Linked DNA regions of Homo sapiens: region 2 is linked to region 1. Evidence: promoter capture Hi-C in human tissues and cell types (Jung and others, 2019). All regions are on one chromosome and are shown on one strand. The core of a region is centred on a gene start or on the middle of the fragment in contact, and the rest is flanking DNA. Distances in the headings are between cores, read along the strand shown. Region 1 overlaps CSNK2A1 (casein kinase 2 alpha 1). Region 2 holds the start of SRXN1 (sulfiredoxin 1).

Region 1 (4,693 bases), core at 1,809-4,308:
ATTTTTGTAAGACAGCCTGGAAGAGAAAAATGGCATTGAGGATAGATACATCAGCATTACCACTAGTTATATATTCTACAAAAGGTATTGGCAAGAAAAATACTTTCTTTTCAGCAGCTTTCTGTAACTTAAGTAGGGGTGCTAAAAGGTTCTAGAATGGCGGCAAAGCTAAGAGTACAACTTGCCATTCTGACTCATATTTGATGAAACCAGGAAGAGAATAAAGGCTTGTTCTCATACATCAAAGCTCCATGTCATCTTATACCAATCCAAATCTTTTGGGGGAACCTTAAGGTAATAATCAGTAGAACCTTGATCACCATTTGAAAGACACACTTGGTTTCATTAAATTTAAAAACAGAAATCAGTAATATTCTCTTTATATTTAATACAGGAGCTTAAAAACTGGTATAAAACAGTAATACAGATTAGCTGAGCTAATGCAAAATTTGACACCGGGGGAAAATAAGTAAGATGTTAGAAATATGCTATCAAATCAGGTTCCTTTCCAATGATGTCTTCCCTATCTCCTACAGCATGTGCTGATTCCCCTCATTATGCATTTAGATGAAATTGTATTGAGTCTCCAGATTGTGATAACGTGAGAAGGATATAACACGTATGCAAGTCTCCTGGCTGAGACAGCATAACTTCAATTTGTATGTGTGTATGTGTTTTAAGACAGGGTCTTATTCCACTGCCCAGACTGGAATGCAGTGGTGTGATCATGGCTCACTGAAGCCTCAACTTCCTGGACTCCGGTGATTCTTTCACCTCAGCCTCCCAGGTAGCTGAGACTACAGGCACGCACCACCACCCTCAGCTAATTTTCTGTATTTTCAGTAGAGACGGTGTTTCACCATGTTGCCCAGGCTGGTCTTGAACTCCCAGGCTCAAGCAATCCTCCCACCTCAGCCTCCCAAAGTGCTGAGATCACAGATGTGAGCCACCGCACCCAGCCATAACTTCAATTCAATTACCAGGAAACATTCAGAAAAAGAGGAAGTGTCTATTTAAAAAGGGGGAAGGGGTACTATACTTCTAAAACATGTCCACAGCATAAAAGACAAATGGAGGCTAAAGAGACATTGCATAAATGCAATACTCTAGACTGTATCCCATACTGCAGGAGGTGGAGGGGGATGCTATAAAAAACAATATCGACAGAACTGGAATTCAGAGGGTATTAAATTATTGTATCAATGTAAATTTGTGAAGTTGGTACATAATCACAATAGTTAAGAGAATATACCTATTCTTTTTTTTTTTTTTTTGAGATGGAGTTTCGCTCTTGTTGCTCAGGCTGGAGTGCAATGGCGTGATCTTGGCTCACCACAACCTCTGCCGCCTCCCAGGTTCATGTGATTCTCCTGCCTCAGCCTCCCGAGTAGCTGGGATTACAGGCATGCGCCACCATGCCTGGCTAATTTTGTATTTTTAGTAGAGATAGGGTTTCTCTATGTTGGTCAGGCTGGTCTCAAACTCCCGACCTCAGGTGATCCGCCCTCCTCGGCCTCCCAAAGTGCTAGGATTACAGGCGTGAGCCACCTCGCCCAGCCCAAGAATATGTCTATTGTTAAGAAATTTTCCTGAAGTAATTAGAAGTAAACAGCCATGATGCATATAATCTACCCTAAAATGATTCAGGAAAAAAATGTGCCCACACGTTTACATGTGTATATATATAGCACACATGACTGCACACTCACAAATGATAAAACAAGCTGGGTAAAATATTACAATAGGTAAACGTGCGTAAAGGGAATAGAGATGCCCTTTGTACTATTTTTATTTACTTTTTGTTGAAATCTTCTTATTTGAAACAAGGTCTCCCTCTGTAGGCCAGGCTAGAGTACAGTGGTCTGATCACAGCTCACTGCAGCCTTGACCTCCCAGGCTCAATCAATCCTCCCACCTCTGCCTCCCAAGTAGTTGGGACCACAGGCGTGGGCTACCACAGCTGGCTAATTAAATAAATTTTTTTTTTGTAAAGATGGGGTTTCCCTATGTTGCCCAGGCTGGTCTCAAACTCCTGGGTTCAAGTGATGCTCCCACCACAGCCTCCCAAAGTACTGTGATTATAGGAGTGATCCACCATACCCAGCTTGTTGAAACACTTTTTTAAATTGTGGTAAAATATACATAACATAAACTTTATGGCCAGGCACAGTGGCTCACTTTGGGAGGCTTAAGAGGGTGGATCGCTTGAACCCAGGAGTTCGCAACCAGTCTGGGCAACATGGTAAAACCCCATCTCTACTGAAAATACAAAAAATTAGCCAGGTGTGATGGTGTCTGCCTGCAGTCCCAGCTACTTGGGAGGCTGAGGCAGGAGAATCACCAGAGACCAGGAAGTCGAGGCTACAGTGAGCTGTGATTGCACCACTGCACTCCAGCCTGGGTGACAGGAGAGAGACCTCATCTAAAAAAAATAAAAACTGCCATTTTATCCACATTTAAACCTAAAGCTCAGTTGCATTAAGTATATTCACATTCTTGTGCAGTAATCACCAGATCATCCATTTCTACAAATTTTTACCATCCCAAATGAAAACTATGTATCCACTAAACACTAATTTTCCCTCCCCCAACTCTTTGCAACCACTATTCTATTTTCTGCCTGAGCTGGCTATTCTAGGAACCTCATATAAGTGGAATCAGACAATATTTGTCCTTTGTTTTGTTTATTTAATTTAGCATAATGTCTTCAAGGCTGATCCATGTTGTAGCATGTGTTAGAATTCCAATCCTTTTAAAGGCTGAATGATATTGCACTGTGTATATATATACACACACACACACACACACACACACACCACATTTTGCTTATCCATTTATCTGCTGATGGACACTTGAGTTGCTTCCACAGCTTGGCTATTGTAAATAATGCTGCTATGAACATAGGTGTACAAACATCTGTTTGAGACCTCGCTTTCAAATCTTTTATGTATATATCCAGAAGTGGAACTGCTGAACCATGTAGTAATTCTATGTTAATTTTTTGAAGAACCAGCATATTGTTTCAACAAGCTGGGCACGGTGGCTCACTCCTATACAGCAACTGTATCATTTTACACTCCCAGGAACAGTGCAAAGGCTACAACTTCTCTACATCCTTACTAACACTTGTTATTTTCTGTTTTTTGCTTGTTTTTATAGAGACAGGGGTCTTGCTTATGCCCAGGCTGGTCTTGAGCTCCTGGCCTCAAGGGATCCTCCCACCTCGGCCTCCCAAAGTGCTCTCAAAATAGACTGTGCCTGGCCTATTTTTTGGTTTTCTTTTCTTCTTCTTCTTTTTTTTTTTTCAGTAACAGCCCTCCTAATGAGTATGAAGTTGTATCTCATTGACTGTGATTTTAATTTGCATTTCCCTAATGATTAATGATGTTGAGCATCTTTTTACATGCTTATTGGCCATTTGTATATTTGTTTTGGAGAATGTCTATTCAAAGCTGTTGTCCATTTTTTGATTGGGTTGTTTTGTTTGTTGACGATGCATTTGTTAACTATACTGTTTTTTTGTTGCTTACAAGCTGCTCATCTTTCCAAGGTAAGCTGTAACTTAGCTACCACACCCAAAGAGAAGCCAGAAGAGATACCTCCTTATGCCCATGGTGTCGGCAGCTAAAGGCTTTCAGAAGAATAGCAAGACTGGGATGGAGATTAATTCTCTATTCCTTAACCGTGACAAACACAATTAATGACATTCCACTCCAAATATATGAGATCAAAAGATTCACATGCTGACTTATGAATTCTCCCACCCAAAAAACTGCTGTAACTTGCCTCTGTTCAACTCAAACCTTCTGAGGTTCCATAAATGTACTAAATGACCAGAAAACAACAAAGTAATTCAAGTACCAAAAGTCTTTAAAATTATTTCTATTTCTTTGATTTTGTAAAACCTGGGTGACATTAATCTATCTTCACTTAATATCAGTTAAAACTGTAAACGCACACACACACAAACACATCAAACATGCAAAAACCAGATGTTTTCTTGTAATTTTTCTTCTTCCCAAAGAAATAAGGTCATCTATGTTGTAGGATTGGTGACTCTGTGACTACTATGCCTGCCTTGACAGCAATGAAAGACACTAGGAAAACCGTAGAGAAAGGTGTAGGTGTGAATATGGCCAAAATAGTAGAAACAGCAGCATGAACCCAACAGAAATGCTGTCCCCAGAAATTTATTACTTTTAATATACTAAACTTTTAAATTCTCAGCCTCTCCTCTGACAGGAAACAGTATCTTTCTCTACATAACCTTTACAGCCACTTTACTCTTCTGGTTAACATTTTATACGTGTAAGACAGCCTTCGTCTGTGGATCTCAAAGCCCTTTTCCTATGCTTAAAAGTGATCTCTCTGTTGGGCTTTTCCCAGCTTTGGTTCATCACTTATAAAACCTGTCTAACTGTGCTTGCAGACTGAAGGGAAGATGAAGTGAGATGATCTTCCAGAAAGGGCTTAGAAACATGAAATGCATGTAAATTTGTATTAAGTAATTACTATCCCCTAGCTCCTTAGTGAAAGCTAATAAGCAGAAACCTATCTTTACAGGCTGGAACCTTCATTCTTTAAAATACAAAAATTATAGTAGCCGTGGTTAATTCCCGGCCACTGAGGGCTAACTCCCAAGTATACATGACATTACAAAATGAGTCCTCATTTCTCCCTGGAAACCATCTGA
Region 2 (4,396 bases), core at 1,225-3,724, 140 kb after region 1:
AAACTGGGAATAAAACATCCTAGAGGGCTGCTGATGAAGAGTCAGTGAGCTGATGCCTACCGGGCATTAGTGGAGCACTAAGGAGGGCAGCCGTGCCAGGCAGGCCTTGTGCCGGGTACTGGAGGCACGATGGTGGATGGCCAGAATGATGGCTCCCAAAGATGTCCACGCCCGAATGCTTCTGAATGTGTTACCTTACATGGGAGAAGGGACTTGGCAGACAGAATTAAGGTAAGGATCCTGAGATGCGGAAATTATCCAAGGTTATCTAGATGGGTCGAATGCCATTATCAGGGTCCTTAAAACTGGAAGAGGAAGTAGAGGAAGAGGTCAGAGTGATGCGATGTGAGAAGGCCTTGGCCTGATGTTGCTGGCTTTGAAGACAGAGGAAGAGGCCATAAGCCAAGCAGTGTGGGTGGCGTCTGGAAGCTGGGAAAGGCGAGGAAATGGATTCTCCCCTAGAGCCTACAGAAAGTAGTGCAGCCCTGCTTGGTGTTAGCCCAGTAAGACCCATTTTGGACTTCTGACCATAAATAAACCTGTGTTGTTTTAAGCCATCAACTTTGTGGTAACTTACAGTGGCCCCAGAAAACTAATACAGGTGTATGTAAGCAAAGGCAGAGCTGGTTCTGGCCCTCAGAGCCTACGGTTCTAGCACGGAAGGCAGGTGTCTAGACAGGACGTTAAAAGCCAGTGGGCTGTAATCCCAGCACTTTGGGAGGCCGAGGTGGGCAGATCGCTTGAGGTCTGGAGTTTCAGACCAGCCTGGCCAACAGGGTGAAACCCCATCTCTACTAAAAATACAAAAATTAGCCAGGCGTGGTGGTGGGCGCCTGTAATCCCAGCTACTTGGGAGGCTGAGGCAGGAGAATGGCTTGAACCCGGGAGGCGGAGGTTGCAGTGAGCCAAGATCGTGCCACTGCACTCCAGCCAGGGTGACAGACCCAGACAACGTCTTAAAAAAAAAAAAAAAAAGCCAGTGAGATCAGAGCTATGCAGGTGGGCACACAGGTGGCTGCAGGCCCACAGAAGCTCCTAACCCGGTAGGGATGGTCAGGGAAGATCCTGACACTGAGACAGGAAGACCGAGAAAGAGTGAGAAACGACAAGGCAGAGATAGAAGAGGTTCTCAACGGGAGAAAAAGCCCAGTGGTGGGACAGGGCATGCATGGCAGATCCCTTCCCATCTCAGCCAGGCGCCGTGCTACTATTGTGGCAACAGATAAGATGGGACGAGGTCCTCGCCCTTGTGGAGTGCACGTGAGGTCAGGAAGACAGAAAATAAAATGCAACACAAATAGATGTATAATATAATTTCTGGTGGACATAAGTGGTATCCTGAAAAACATCTCGGGCTAAGGGGAGAGCTAGAGAGGCCAGTGACTCTGACCAAGGGTGATCAAGGAGGCAGAGAGCTGAACCAGGCAGGGGAGCAGGCCCTGTGGTTGTCTGGGGAAGTGGCTCCAGGCAGTGAGGACACTAGTGTAAATACTAGGACTGAAAGTTATCGGGGGTGGCTGTAGAGGTGCTGGGTGGGGCTTAGGGATCTCATGTGCTCACCTTCCAAGGGTCGGGGGAAGGGGACACAACGTTATGTAGGCCTAACCTGACACCTGTTCTTGCGGGGCCCCCAAGTTCCTGCCAGAATCACTCCGGTATTCTTAACACCCTTCCTCAGTGGTGGAGCTGACCCTTGACCTCTCCCACTTCCCATTCAGACAAGGGCCTCCCAGCAGATATGACACACCTAGTCCCACTGTCACTGACTGTCACAGCCATGAGAGCCCACGGCTTATCTCCGGGTAGTGCGGTGGCCATGTGCTGGGCAGTGGGGCCCAGGCTGCCTGGGTGTGAATTCCAGCCGTGTCACTTTTTAAGCGCCTGATCTTAGTCAAGCCGCTGAAATCTTCCCTGCCTCAGTTCTCGTCTGCAAAAGAGCCACTATCTACCTCCTAGGGTTGGCATAGGAAACTGAGGGACTTCCTGCAGTTCCTGGACCACTGCAAGCACTAGCGTTATAAGCGTTATCATCACTACTTTAATTATCTCGCCCAATTCCCTCCTTGCTCAAGTGAGGAAACAGAGGCCCAGAGAGGCCCAGCTACTTGCTCAAGGTCACACAGCAGAGGCTGAGCTCCGGCTGGGCCCGGAACCAGTCCGTCTCGCGTCCATCGCAGCGACCTCCCTCCTCCGGCAACCTCCCTCCTCCGAAGCCCTCCCTCCGGTTGGCTGGACTCCCCGAGGCCTCACCCGGATCGTGTCCACGAGGCTCTGCACCTTGGCGGGGTCCAACACGGACGGCAGCGGCCGGATGAGCACGCTCAGCGGCACGTTGTGCACCGCGGCGATGCGGCCCGAGTGGATGCTGCCGCCCTGCGCGCCGCCGCTCGGCCCGGGCCCCTCGGGCGCCCCCCGACCCGCGCCGGCCCTGCCCAGCGTTCCTCCTGCACGCAGCCCCATCGTCGCCGCCGCCGCGGGACTCGCCGCCTCCCCCCGGCCTTAACTCCGGCCGGGCCATACCATTCCGCGCGGCCGGGGGGGGGGGCCCGTGCCAGGGCAGCGCGCGTTTCTCCCCCGACCCCGCCGCGGTCCGGCCTCGACCCCGCGGTCCCCAGCCCGACTCCGGCTCCGCTCGCCAGGTGCCGCCAGACTCGCGCGGGGCTCAGGCTCTCCACCGGGGGGCGCCTCTCGCCTCCCCTGCGCCGCGCGGCGTCCGGGGAGTGGAAACGCCCGGGCGGGCTGACTCAGGGTGAGTTTGCAGGTCGCGGGGCGGGAGGGGCGCGGGTGACGCACCGGCCGGGCCGACTTAGGCCGCGGGGGCGGGGGCGGGGGAGAGCGCGGCGGACCTGCCCAGCCAGGGTGAGTCGGCAAAGCCCGCGGTGCGCTGCTGCCCCGCTGCTGGGGTTCCTAGCCAGCGAGGTTATGATCCCCACCAGCGGTTCCACTTCCAGTCTGGCGCCGGCTGTGTCTGGAGTCGTTCCGAACATTTTGCACGTGTATTAACGTATCTGAACCTCAAAACAACCCTGCAAGGAAGGTATGACTGTTATTCCCATTTTACAGAAGAGGAGACTGAGACACAGGTTTAAGTGATGTACCCAAGATCACGGAACTAGTAAGTGGCCGAATCCGCGTTCAAATCCAGACGGTCTGGCTCCAGAGTCCGCCTTCTACCCCACCGTTGGCTGCCTTGGTTCAGCAACAGTGACTGTCACACGGAGCCCTCAGGAGTCGCGCTGACAATGGGTGGGCCCTGCCTTCAAGTTCCACACTGTCTGTTTGTGTCATTACAACACTACTGGAAGTAGGTGCAGTTATAGACCCGCTGTTCAAGGTCAGCTGAAATGAAAGTCAGGTCACACGAGTCCAAACTGTGGGGCCACTTAACCACCAACTCCAAGCAGGAAGGTGGACGATCCCAGACTCGGTCGAAGACAAGCATGTCTGGTTTGCTTGTCTTCCTTCTCAACCTGAATGGCACGAACATGGAGAAATGCATACTTACCCTGCCAGCTGGAGAAAACTGGAGACGAAGGAGGGAGCCAGGAGTTTCTACTTTGCCTTCCACCAGTTGCTGACACTTTCTGAACCCCGTCTGTAAAATGAAGTCATGCTGCCCATCACTCAAAGTTGTGTGAATTGAGAGAGTGCTCATAGTGCTCTGTGAATTGCATAACATCCATTTTGCTGTTGAAGATCATTTATTTTGGGTTCTTAGTCTCTCACAAAACCTTAGAACACTGACACCAAGACTCCAGCCTTTCCCTTTCGAAACATAATTCCCGTGCGCACCTAAATGATACTTTATTTCAAGAAGTAGAACTGACACCCACACCTCAGCCCCAGAATTATTCAGAATTAGAGAATTTCATCAAGAGGGAAGTTATCCCTTCTAAAACATCTTCCTCATTACAGGAAGTAAGAATGGCAGGATAACAGTTTCTAGAGTGGAAAAGTGGAGCTCTGGCCTGATTCTATCATCATGGTGTACCCAGGGAGGCCTCATTTCCTGGTATCAAATTCTCTGTGTTAAGATATCTATGGCCCAATTCAAAATGGCTTAAGCAATAAGAAGGTTTGTTTTCTCACATAATAAAATGTTTGGAGGTAGGTATGTCCAAGGTTGGTAAAGAGGCAGTTGAACAATGTGACCAAAGACTCCAGTTCTGGCTGGGCCCGGTGGCTCACACCTGTAATCCCAGCACTTTGGAAGGCTGAGGCAGGCGAATCACTTGAGGCCAGGAGTTCGAGACCAGCCTAGCCAACATAGTGAAACCCTGTCTCTACCAAAAGTACAAAAATTAGGCAGGCATGGTGGCGCGCGCCTGTAGTCCCAGTTACTCCAGAGGCTGAGACAGGAGAATTGCTTGAAACCGAGAGGCAGAGGTTGCAGTGA

Evidence for each region. Contacts are between HindIII fragments. The study calls those that stand out against the background at their distance.
Region 2: a contact is called between the fragment with the promoter of SRXN1 here and a fragment that was not itself captured in region 1, in 1 of the 25 tissues and cell types used here (thymus).

Annotation. Positions count from the first base shown.
Region 1 is chr20:508,916-513,608 of GRCh38, forward strand. The region is part of intron 2 of CSNK2A1 (casein kinase 2 alpha 1); the gene reads right to left. Among named protein-coding and RNA genes, the nearest start is that of CSNK2A1, 33 kb to the right of the region's middle. The HindIII fragment of the contact is 7,767 bases long and covers 1-4,693 here.
Region 2 is chr20:650,726-655,121 of GRCh38, forward strand. It overlaps SRXN1 (sulfiredoxin 1), which reads right to left and starts at 2,475. Exons shown (of 2, transcript NM_080725.3): 1 at 2,251-2,475. The coding sequence starts at 2,460. It overlaps LOC107985423 (a long non-coding RNA gene), which reads left to right and starts at 2,228. Exons shown (of 2, transcript XR_001754452.2): 1 at 2,228-2,749; 2 at 3,064-4,396. RefSeq lists a silencer at 2,353-2,912. The HindIII fragment of the contact is 30,072 bases long and covers 1-4,396 here.